Regions from separate parts of the Homo sapiens genome. Here all the other regions are linked to region 2. The links are contacts of gene promoters, found by promoter capture Hi-C in human tissues and cell types (Jung and others, 2019). All regions are on one chromosome and are shown on one strand. Each heading gives the region's core, a stretch centred on a gene start or on the middle of the fragment in contact. The rest is flanking DNA. Distances are from core to core; before and after follow the strand shown.

Evidence for each region. Contacts are between HindIII fragments. The study calls those that stand out against the background at their distance.
Region 1: a fragment that was not itself captured here is called in contact with the fragment with the promoter of ONECUT1 in region 2 in 1 of the 25 tissues and cell types used here (lymphoblastoid cells).
Region 3: a contact is called between a fragment that was not itself captured here and the fragment with the promoter of ONECUT1 in region 2, in 1 of the 25 tissues and cell types used here (lymphoblastoid cells).

What each region holds. Positions count from the first base shown.
Region 1 is chr15:53,504,863-53,508,665 of GRCh38, forward strand. The region is part of intron 1 of LOC105370826 (a long non-coding RNA gene); the gene reads left to right. Among named protein-coding and RNA genes, the nearest start is that of WDR72, 250 kb to the right of the region's middle. The HindIII fragment of the contact is 6,069 bases long and covers 1-3,803 here.
Region 2 is chr15:52,788,915-52,792,806 of GRCh38, forward strand. ONECUT1 (one cut homeobox 1) reads right to left here and starts at 1,422. Exons shown (of 2, transcript NM_004498.4): 1 at 1-1,422. The coding sequence starts at 970. It overlaps LOC105370824 (a long non-coding RNA gene), which reads left to right and starts at 1,516. Exons shown (of 2, transcript XR_001751550.2): 1 at 1,516-3,775. RefSeq lists enhancers at 1,418-1,712, 1,709-2,477, 2,478-3,245 and a silencer at 1,460-1,529. The HindIII fragment of the contact is 12,558 bases long and covers 1-3,892 here.
Region 3 is chr15:52,257,181-52,261,016 of GRCh38, forward strand. It overlaps MYO5C (myosin VC), which reads right to left. Exons shown (of 41, transcript NM_018728.4): 10 at 3,682-3,836. Among named protein-coding and RNA genes, the nearest start is that of MIR1266, 18 kb to the right of the region's middle. RefSeq lists enhancers at 137-713, 3,020-3,595. The HindIII fragment of the contact is 4,159 bases long and covers 1-3,806 here.

The DNA of each region.
Region 1 (3,803 bases), core at 124-2,623, 720 kb after region 2:
GGAGACATTTTTCTGCTTGTCCTAACAGTAGGGGGTAGGCAGTTACTGGCATGTAGTGGTGGAGGCCAAGGATGCTGCTAAATATCCTGCAACTTAAAGGACAGTCCCCACCAAACAAAGGACTCCCTGGCCCAAGATGTCAATAGTGCTGAGGTTGAGAAACCCCTGCCTTAGACAATCGAGCTTAGACAATTTTAGAAAAAGAGTTCAAATCATCCTTAAATTGTTTTCCTGATCAAGAAACACCAGAGAAGGACTTTTGCTGTAATGCGTCAAAGAACCTTGATATTCTGGCTGGGAAGTCCATTCCATTAGCCTTTCAACTCAAAAGGATGTTTCCCTGGTTAAGAGCCCTTACGTGCATAGGAGTACTCTGTGACCACACAACATTGAGGGCGCCAAGAATGTATGGTATATTCACTCAGGGAACCCCACAATGTAGGCTAGCAATCAATGCAAAGATAACAAGTTCAATACCATGGGAATAGATGGGAATGTACATACCACCAAGGACATCTAAAACATGAAGCTTGAAAATGGCCATTAAATCTGACTATTGCATTGTTAAATATGAGGACAGAAAGATGTGAGTGGTCAGCAATATAACATAATGGTGAAGGCCACACATTGCTGAATCTGACATTGCAAGACTCCTGGTCCATGTGATTTGGTGCCTAGCTGGTAGAGAGTGTTATCAATGGAGCAAAAGAACACCTAGATCCAGCCCACTGTTTCCAAAGTGACCCTCCACTAAGGGCTTCCAGGAAATTGATACAAATACATTGATAGTATTAATGCCAGGAATATAACACCTATAGGTTTTTTAATCAAATCAATAATTTGTTGATCAATATTTGTTAAAAGTGATGACATTGATTCTACTGGTTTCTGTCATAACGAACGAGAGTAGATGAAACGGATTCATGATTTTTAAAATGCAGTCCTAATACCCCTTATGAAAAACTGGGAACCATAGATAAGAAAGGCAGTTATAAAAGACTGAATGATTCCAAAGAGTCAGAAAGCAAAGGCTGCATGCTTAGAAACTATGCTGTAATGTTTAATTCCTTTTCCCACTGTTTACTAGCTGTGTGGTCTTCAGCAAATTACTCAACCTGTCTGTGTTTCTGTTTCCTTTTATACCTAATAAGGATAAAATCTATCCTATAAAATAGCTGTGAAGATTAAGAAACTATATGTAAAGTACTAGGCACAGCACAGCCATAAAATGTTCAGTAAATGTTAGCTGTTAGAAGAGTATGTATTTAACAAACACAAATGTATATGAACGCAAAATTTAAATGAATTTTAAAAGATAAACTACAAGATGAGAAAAAATTTCACAGCTCCAGTGTTCTACTTTGGAGCTACTTTTGTATACTATTATGCTTTTCTTCTGACAACACTTTGGAATAACTTTTTGAGAGGCAAAGAAGTAGGTGGCCTTCTAGGTCCCTAGACAGCTATGCAGGCATAGAATATTTTTCACCAATATTTTTAGCTGATATCCAAAAGTGACCTTCTGAACAGCCAGATACTCAATATTGTATTCAGCTGTTTAATGTTTCATCATCCCACTCATTAATCACACATAACACTCATTAATCAAGTTACAAAGGAGGATCATTACCAACCGGGGCCATAGTGCAGGAAAATTCCTGCCTGCAAGCCACATCAGTAGGCTTTGCATTACTCCAAAGACCGGGTAGTGGCCAACTGGGGTAGAACAGCATCAACTGGGTGACATTTCTGTGGAGTTCAGAGGAACTGTAAGACCTGGGTAGTTTCTTAAGTTACAGCCCTAAACAATCAGAGAAATGCAACTACAGGGCCATACACAAAGAAGGCTAATAGAGATGAAATACTAAAAGATTCCAGATAACTCTTTTTTGTAAATAAATTAAATATGCCAACATTTGCTATAACAAAATTTGTAAAGTGGGAATTTACCCATTATTTCAGATGAATTAAAGTTCCTAATTTTAGTGCTTTTTAAAAAATTATATTTATAGCATGATCTCGGCTCACTGCAGCCTCTGCCTTCTGGGTTCAAGAAATTCTCCTGCCTCAGCCTCCCGACTAGCTGGGGTTACAGGTGCCTGCCACCATGCTCGGCTAATATTTTGTATTTTTAATAGAGACAGAGTTTTGCCATGTTGGCCAGGTTGGTCTCAAATTCCTGGCCTCAGGTGATCCACCTGCCTCAGCCTCCCAAAGTGCTGGGATTCTAGGCGTGAGCCACTGTGCCCAGCCCACGTTATTGATTTATAGAGAATAAGGATTTAGCTTTCCTTTCTCCCATCCATTCCCTTCACACAATTCCCTCATCCTCCTGATAGTTTCATTATATCTTTTTGTTAGAGTAATAATTATTTGGTAATAATTAGTACTAGAATTACTACAGTTGGGTCATGTAATACACTATGATTACATTTCTTCTATTTCTCCTTCTTTTTTATTCGTTTAGTTTTCTGTCATATACAATACTTCACTACTTCATGACCCAAGCCCATTGACAGAACTCTAACATTACTCTCAGTAGAGTCAGACTTACCGAGTAATCTGTCAGTTCCGTTGTTGTCCTGGAGACGTCCCTATGGGAATCCTCTACTTTCTGCTAAAATCTAGACCAGCTGCTTTCTAGGCTTGAGCACAGCAGTAGACATGCCATCTGCCTTCCCTGTCCTCTGTGGACATTTCTTCATTCCCATGTTGCATATGCTAAACTTTTCTGGTTTACTCCATTTTGTAGGTGGATCATATCCTCCAGCAATTTCATGGGAAAGAGTGCATGGAAGAAATAGATTGCCTAAGTATAATTCTAGGAAGGTGATGGTTTTCATCAGGATATTTAAGTCATTGCCACATTTTCTTCTGGCATCCAGAATTGCAATTAAGAGCTCTAATGCCATACGGATTCCTAATTATTTGTATTGAGCAAAAGTTATCCTTCCTTTTCTAATGTTAAGAACATTTCTTTTGCTCTAATATTCTGAAGTTTCACTAAAATGTACCTTGATATGGGTCATTTTTATGAATTTTGCTGAGCACACCATAGGTTCTTTCAATCTGAAATTTGGTTTCATCAGTTCTGGAAAGTTTGCTTGATTTTGTTTTACATAATTTTCTTCCCCCTGATTTCTCTGTTTATTCTTTGTAGAGCTCTCATTAATATTATTTTTCACACAAGACCCCCTCTAATTGAATTAGTCTTAAAATTTTCTACTGCCTCTCCTAATTTTTCCACTTTGTGAGACATTTCTTCAATTGTAATTTTTTTTGAAACGGAGTCTTGCTCATTGCCCAGGCTGGAGTGCAATGTGCAATCTCTGCCTCCCAGGTTCAAGTGATTCTCCTGCCTCACCCTCCTGAGCAGCTGGGATTACAGGCATGAGCCACCGCGCCTGGCCCTCAGTTGTATTTTTTAAACTCTTTTTGGAAAAAAATGCTAGCCTTGGAATGTGTGTGTGTGTTTTGTTTACTGTGGAATTCTCAATGGCTAGAACAGTGCCTAGTACATTAGAAACTAAAAAAAAAAAAAAAAAAAAAAAAAAAATGTTGGACTGAAAAAGTAAATGCTATCACATATGTTTAACTTTTGGAATGTCTTCTTTCATGCTGTTAAAACCAAAACTACCCATTAAACAATCACTCTCCATTCTTCCCTCCCTCCTGTCCTGGCAACCACCATTCTACTTTCTGTCTCTATGATTTGACTGCTCTATGTTCCTCATAGAAGTAGAATCATACAGTATGTGTGTTTTTTGTAACTGGCGTATTCCACTTAGCATAATATTCTCAAT
Region 2 (3,892 bases), core at 172-2,671:
GGGAGCGGCAGAGCACCCTCTGCGCGAAGATGGCCTGTGGGATGCTGTAGCGCTTGAGCTCGGTGGTGATACGCTGCGCCACCTCTTTGGTATTGATCTCTTCCATCTGCCCTGAATTACTTCCATTGCTGACCTGCGCGCCGGTCACCGAAGGGTTGGGCTCCCGGGCTGTGCCCAGGAGTTGCCCGTGGCCCTGGGCGTTCAGGTGGGCGTGGGGATGGTGCGGAGGAAGGCCGTTGATGGGCACCATGCCGGCCGAGGTGGGCGTGAGGTGCTGCTCCCCGTGGCGGCCGAGCATGGCCGGGTGGTGGGCTTCGAAGCCGTTGGGGGTGAGCATCTTGTCGGTGGGCATGGCGGCCCCCGGGTGGGCATAGTGGGGGAGCCCTTGCTGGGAGTTGTGGATGCTGCCCAGACCGGAGCTGGAGAGGGGCGAGAGGCTCTGGCCCATGCCGGCCACGTCCTTGTGGTAGGGGGTATAGAGGTTATTCATGGAGGCCAGCCCGCGCTCATCCCGCATGAGCGTGAAGCTACCGCTCACGTTGCCCGCCAGGCGCTGGTGGTGGTGCGGGTGGTGGTGGTGATGGTGGTGGTGGTGATGGTGGGGGAACTTGTCCGAGACTGTGGAGATGGGAGGCAGCGGCTGCAGAGGGGTCAAGGTGGTGTAGGTGGTGGGCATGCTCATACCTGGGGGAGTCTCGCAGGCCATGGTCATGGTGGGATGCAGGGGGCCGGCCAGGCTGTGCTCAGGGGCCCGGTGGTGGTGGTGGTAATCTCCGCCGCCGCTGCCGCCGTCCAGCAGGGACGCCATGCCCATGGAGCGCGGGTGCGCGGGGGGCAGGTGGCTGCCGCGGTGCGCCACGGAGCTGCGCGCGTGGGGGCTGCCGCCCAGCAGGTCGGCAGGGGCGGGCACCGGCTCATGGCTCACCCCGTGCAGCTCGCCGATCGCTTCCATGGTCAGCTGCGCGTTCATCGTGATCCGGGCGAGCAGGCGGCGGACACAACATCGATGTGGCCAGGCAGAGGCGGCGAGGGGCGCACGGAGTCCGGTCTTCACATCGGCTGCTGGCGACTGTTGCCTTCCTTCCTCTCACTGTGGGGCTCTGTCTCTCTCTCTCTCTCTCTCCGTGTGTGTGTGTCCGTGTGTGCGTGTGCGTGTGTGTGTGTGTGTGTGTCTCGCCTTCCCTCTTACCCCCCACCTTCCCCTCTGCGTCCTCGGCTTTTTTTTTTTTAATATTAATTTCCAAAGAGGATCCGCGCCGTTGGGAGAGCGCAGTGCCCCAGCCCGCCCGCCTCGGCCACCTCTCGCCCCTCTCTTTCTTAAAATTCTGAGGTCTCCGGCTCCCCTGCCGCGGCCCGCGCGCCTGCCGCGTCTGCTGCCTGCCCGCCCCGCTGGCCAGCTTGAGCCATGGCTCTGTTACTGTTACAGACTCTGTGGCCGCGGTTCGGTAGCCGCCGCCGCCGCCGCCGCAGCGGCCCGCCCTCACGCCCGCCAGGCGCAGCGCGCATGCGCGAGGCCCGCCCCCGCCCCCTAGGTCGCGGCGCGCCAGGCCCTTGGCGTCCCGGTACAAATGAAGGAGGGGGCCCAGCGCCTTCCCTGCGGCGCTGGATGGCCAGGGAGCTGCGGGCACGTGCGAAAGATTGGCGCAGAGCGCGACCTGGGGCCGCCGCTGCAATCCCAGGAGACTCGCGCCTGGCTCGCTCGCCTCCCTTGCTTGAGTGGGCTCTGTCCTCCCAGCCCGGGGACGCTCGTGTCGGGCTTCTAGCGGCTGGAGTGCTGTGCTTGGAGACATCGCCCCTCTCTCTCCAGTTGCTGCTTCCCGGTGCAGCTTGCCCGGGGAGCTGGGGACTGTGTCATCACCCCTTCGGCTCTAGCCCACTAAGCTTTATTTCCCGGGGGGCTGCTGGGAGTGCGCTTTCCCACCCTTGAATTCACGGCCTATTGGGGGATGGGGGTTGGGGTGGGGTGGGGTGCAGATTGCTTAAAGGGCTGGGTCCGTTTGGCGGCCGTTGACCCGGCACCCTTCGTCCTCCCAGATACATACTTGCCCACCCTTTCTCATCCATGCCCTGGGGAGAGGAGTAATCAGTGCCAAGAATCCCAGTTCGGGCCATACCTCACTGTCCCCCGCCGCCTGGCTCCTTCTCCCGCTCAGCTCATAATTAAGGCTGTGCGTCCGCTTCGCCGATGACTCGGCCTGTGGAGGGGGGCGAGGGAGAGCGGAGGGAGTGCCCTGGAGGGTACCCATGTTAACTTCCGGGTGCTGGTGGGGCCGTGGAGGCTCGGGCCGTCCCTGCGGTTACTCCCAAGGCCCTCCTGCTAAAGCACCCGGAGGCGGTTGCTTTCCAGAAGTACTGACGCAGACAGGGTGGACGCCGGCGCGCGGGTCTCCGCTTGGCCCCTAGGGACGCCCTTTTCCCGGCGTCCCCGAGAGACGCCTCCAGATTTGAAAATCAATTCAGCTTCGGGAGTAATTTCGCCCTTCCCACAGTCACGCTCCAATCTGGAATCGAACCTGGTCTTTGGGCCTGGTGGGGACGTGTGCGGAGGCCCCCAGTTTGAGACGTACACCCGGCCGCCACATGCCGCGGCTTTCTTTCATTTACAAAAGAAAGAAAAAAAATCCGCAACAAAAGGCAGAGCCGTGTCCGCTTAGGTGCTTTCATCCCTCAGAGAAAGGACAGATGTGCCCATTGTCCAGCCCGTGGCAGTTATGGCCGGGTCAGCGCCGAGCCTCAGCCCCAGGCAAGCGGTGGTTACAATGAGAATAGCCTCTCAGAGCCGGGGTATCTGGACTCAGATATGGAATAAAGTGTGTGTAGCCTGTGCTGGGCCAGACTCAGACTGTAGGTTTGCTTGCTGGGGCACCGAACTGCAGCCCACCCGTGGTGTTTCCACTGCAAATGCTCCCAAGCCCTTAGAGAGGCCAAGGCTGTGGTAGTGGTGGTAGTTGGGTTTCCAAGGCAAAAGTTTGGGCTGGCCAACCCTTTGGGAAAAGTTCCCACCGGCCCAGGCATGAGTAGGCCTATCTCTTTGCCCAGGTCCCTGCTACCACCAGGGCAACATCCTAATCCAGGTAGGTCAAGTTCAGTGGATACAGTCAACGTGACTTCCTTGAAGGCGGCCATGTCCTGGGACTGGTTAATCTAGCTGGTTTTATCACCAGAGGCACTCCCATCCTGTCCAAACAATGCATATGGAGGCCCTGCAAATAATTCATCTCAATGGATTTCATGTCTACTTTCATAATGAACAGTTAGGAATTTAGGAACCCCCAGAGAAGAAAAGATATTTTAGGGAAAATACACTGATGTAAAGGAACTCAGAAAACACGATTAACTCTTTAAACTTGTATCTATATCTACCTATTCATACACGCATACACACAAGCACAAAACATATATTTCCTGCCTAGTATATTACAGTACCTTGGTGGAAAGCTGCATCTTTGGTTTTTAATTGTTTCCATTCTCATTTCCTACAGCATGAGACCAAACAATGGGTTAAAGTAGCAGGGAGTCTTTCAGCTAAACAGTTGTCCCCCCGCCCCCGCCCCAATATTTTAATCCCGCTGAAGTGATTGATTTGCCCTTATGACAACTATCTTCCCAAAAGGCAGTTTGTTAAAAGAAAGAAAGAAGTAAATACCACCAAGTGCACAAATTGTTCATGGTTTTCTCTTTGTGTAGCTAATTAGGAACTTGATCTTGGAAACCCTCCTTCATGAGAGGCACTCAGCTGAGCCTCTGGAGTCCACCTGAATAAGGCTGGCATCAGGTGAGCTCAACTTCCCCTCTCCCCCAAGGGCATTTATGAAAAGGGGGGCTGGCTCTGTGTTGGTCCCTAAAGAAGGAGCCAACGAAAAGACCTGGAGAAGCACCATATGTGTTGGCT
Region 3 (3,836 bases), core at 477-2,976, 530 kb before region 2:
GGGGAGGAGCAGCACAACTGCAGCACAATTTTGCCTCCCTAAGGGGTGCTTTCATAGCTCCTAGAGGAAAAGGGCAAAGTCATTTCATATCCTACAGCCCAGCACACCCCATCAGGGACGAGACAGACATGGCTGGCTTCCATATTCAGACTTTCATCAGCTGCCTCTGCAGTTGCCTTGGAGTTGCAAGCTCAAGAACTGAGAGGAGCCCTTGGGGAGGCAGCTGCTACTCAGCTCCTGCCGGATGTAGCCATGGATGAATGCGGCCCAGGATGTTAGATTAATTGATTCTTAAGAAAAGTCAGAAAACTGGGACTTTTAAGTGAATAATCCCACTCTGCAAAACGTGGGCCGAACAAAACAGAGGCACCAAATTTACCACCTGGCCAGATGAGCTCCTGCTGGAAGGCAGCTTGCTGAGCACTTTTAAGGTGTCAGCATTTATGCACGTCACCTCCTATAACCCTAACACAGCCCTATGTGAAGGGCTCCTGTGACTCCACTGTCACACACGAGGGTCAGAGAAGGAGTGACCATGGTGAGGACCAACAGCCAGCAAGTGGTGCCAGAAATGCAATTCGACCCCAGTGCTTGGTGCCTCCAAAGCTTTGTTCTTAATCGCTCTAATCCTGAGAGGTTCCTGCCGGCTCCTATCACAGGTCCCCTGGGAGTCTCACTTGACTGAGCTGGTTTGGCTCAATCTGGAATTCCTGGGCAGGGTAAGAACCTGGACTGTCCTCTAGACAGCTCCAGGGTGATTCATAGCAGCTCTGACAGCCCCATTCCACACGCAGCCTTGGTGGCTCAGAGATTCGGAGGCTGGTCTGCTCATGGAAGCAAGGCCAGGGCTGGGCCTGGGGGAAGATTAAAAAGGGTCTCACTGAGCTCTGCAGCTCACAGCTGGGGCCAAGGGCAGGGCTTTCTAGAACCTGGCAAAATGTCAAACATCAATGCATTATTTTGGGGCACAAAAATCTGAAGTTTAGGACCCATGGAAAGACCTAGATCTGTGACTTAAAATGCTAGAGGCACATTGGCTATGAAAACACTTCACACTGGAACCATGCTTATGGTTTTCAAGGTACCTGCATAATTTCTTCCATCATATGTTCAAAATCACCCTGCAAGAGAGGCCCCATCTTGTAGATGCAGAAACTAAGGCTTGGAGAGGTTCTGTGACTTTCTTGAGGTCACGTAACTGGTATGCTACGGAGCTCATTCCCAGGGGTCTGACCCCCAGACCCAGGTTTTTCCAACTCTGGGTCCAAAGAACATAAATACACGACAGGCTGGGGAGTCACCAGCCTTCATTCACTCTCAGCTTAGACCTTGAAGCTCACAGCTTCAGCTTTACTGGCTTTCAAAGATGCTAAGTCTTCCTTTGAGGCTTCCTTATTTCCAAGTCAAAAAGAGCTTTCTCAAAAGTTGCAGGTATGCCTAGGCGAGGGTTAGCCTAGAAGCGAGGCTGCTGGAGGGGGCGGGAAAGGCTTGGCCCCAGGCTGCAGCCCTGCTGCCTAGAGGAAAGCTGATTTTTTTGGAGGCGTATCATGAACTCAAGGGTGGCAGCAAACAGGCTATTGTTAGAATTTTTGAGAGGAATCTTAAAATAATTTACTCTAACAAGTCTTTGTGTATTTATAAATACTCTTGTCTCAGGTTTTTCCACATAGCTGAAAAATTCAAATTCCTTATTACAGTGGTTCTGGATCCTGCCTGGGGGCCACCGTCCAGCTCACTACTCCTTGCACATGGCTGCCCTTGCTCTGTCCCCACCCTCTGCTAACCTCCAGCACACCTTCCTCCCTTCCCAGGACTCATCCTAACCTCTACTGCCGGCCTGCTGCCCTCACCAGTCTCAGTCCCACGGTGGCAGGAGCCGTACATCTATGCTGTTCAACCACTGCCTCCAACACAGTGCCTGGGACATAAACATCTGTTAGATAAAAATATGAAATAATGGCTGGGTGCAGTGGCTCACGCCTGTAATCCCAGCACTTTGGGAGGCCGAGATGGACAGATCACAAGGTCAGGAGATCGAGACCATCCTGGCTAATACGGTGAAACCCAGTCTCTACTAAAAATAAAAAAAATCAGCCGGGCGTAGTGGCAGGTGCCTGTAGTCCCAGCTACCCAGGAGGCTGAGACAGGAGAATCGCTTGAACCTGGGAGGCAGAGGTTGCAGTGAGCCGAGATGGTGCCACTGCACTCCAGCCTGGGCAACAGAGCAAGACTCCGTCTCAAAAAAAAAAAAAAGAAAAAAAAGAAAGAAATAATATACTGTTAAAATAAAGGACTGTCATTTAAAAATACATCTTAAAAACACCCAAAAGAACAGGGAATAACAGAATAATTACGTATTTCCACCACAATGAAACAGGACTATTTTTAATGAGGACTATCCATTTTTAAAAGTTCACTTAAGCTTTTAACTGGCTGCTCAAACACTTTCTGGGAAGAAGACAAGGTAAATAATTGACTAGGCTATCCCAGTAATGTATTAAGCATTTTATAACTGTTGACACGTACTATTAATTGGGAGCCATATGTATTAACTTAGGATCTAAATTAAACAAAGCAGCTCCCTTGACTGTCTCCCATTTGACAGCTATGGGAAAAGCTGCCTCTCCACCTGGGTGCAAGTCCAACAGCGTGGTGTGGCCCTGTCCCCCTCCTCCCCAGGAGGCAGCAGCAGGGCCGTGAAGGCCAGAGCTCAGCTCTCCCCTTTGCATGGGGAATGGGGTTGAGCTGCTTTTTGCCATGGTGTGGGGAAGATCCCCCAATCCAGGTGGAACACTCCAGGATGCCTTTCATGGGTCAATCTTCCCCTTCTCCTGTTAAGAAACCAGGGTGGGTCCCAGGAGAGGGGCAAGGGCTGGGCACTGGGGCCAGCTGCTAGAAAAGCCTGAAGGATAACAATCTCCACAGAGCCCTCCATGCCAGCTTCCACTCTGGTTACTCCATAGCTGTTTCAGCACGAGCTGAGCCCGGGGTTTAGAAAAGGAGGACCAGGCAGAGAGAATGAAAAAGAACCCAACTCCAGGGTGGGATGAAGGGTAAGACCTCCTGGAGGAGGGCTGGGGAAAATCCAAGACCTTCTCACCCAAGAACGGAAAAGGATTGGGGTAGGGGGGTGGTTGATCAGAGACCTGGGTTCAGTCCACCTCTGGCCGCTGGGCTTGGGCAAGGTGCAAGCCTAGGTGACTTGTCATCCCCTGTGATTCGAATGGGAAGGGACCTTGGGGCTCCACACCTCAGGGGCCTTTGGTGGGAAAAGCAAAAGCAGGAGCCTCACAACTGTGCTGGGTTCTCCCACCAGCGGAGCAATTGTGACGAAGTTATTGAGTCTTTCTAAGCCTTGGTTGTTGCAGCTCTACAACGGGGATAGTTATAAGGTTGTTTAAGAAATTAAGTGAGAAAGCCCATGGAAGCCAAGCAGCCTCAGAGCTGGCACACAGTAAGCTCTTGACATTGGTCATTCCTAATTCAGCATCTCTTTAATGCACTTTGAATAAATGGCACCATAGCCCAGGAGAGTGTACTTAGCATCTATAGGGGCAAAAGCAGAGAATGTTATCTTTCTAATCATGTGAAATACAAAAGAACCAGAACAAAATGATCTAAAAACCATGCGGCTCTCAACATTTAAAGGAGGAAAGACAGGCTCACTGAAGAGAATCTTACCCATAAATGTCCAAAACACCAATAAAAGTGTGCTGCTTGCCTGAAAACTGCAACGCTTGGTTAATTCTCTCCACAATGAAGTCGAACAGGTGAGCATAGATCTTTTTGGCCAGTGCATCCCTGGCGTTGACAGCCTGAGGCCTGGTCATGGGTTT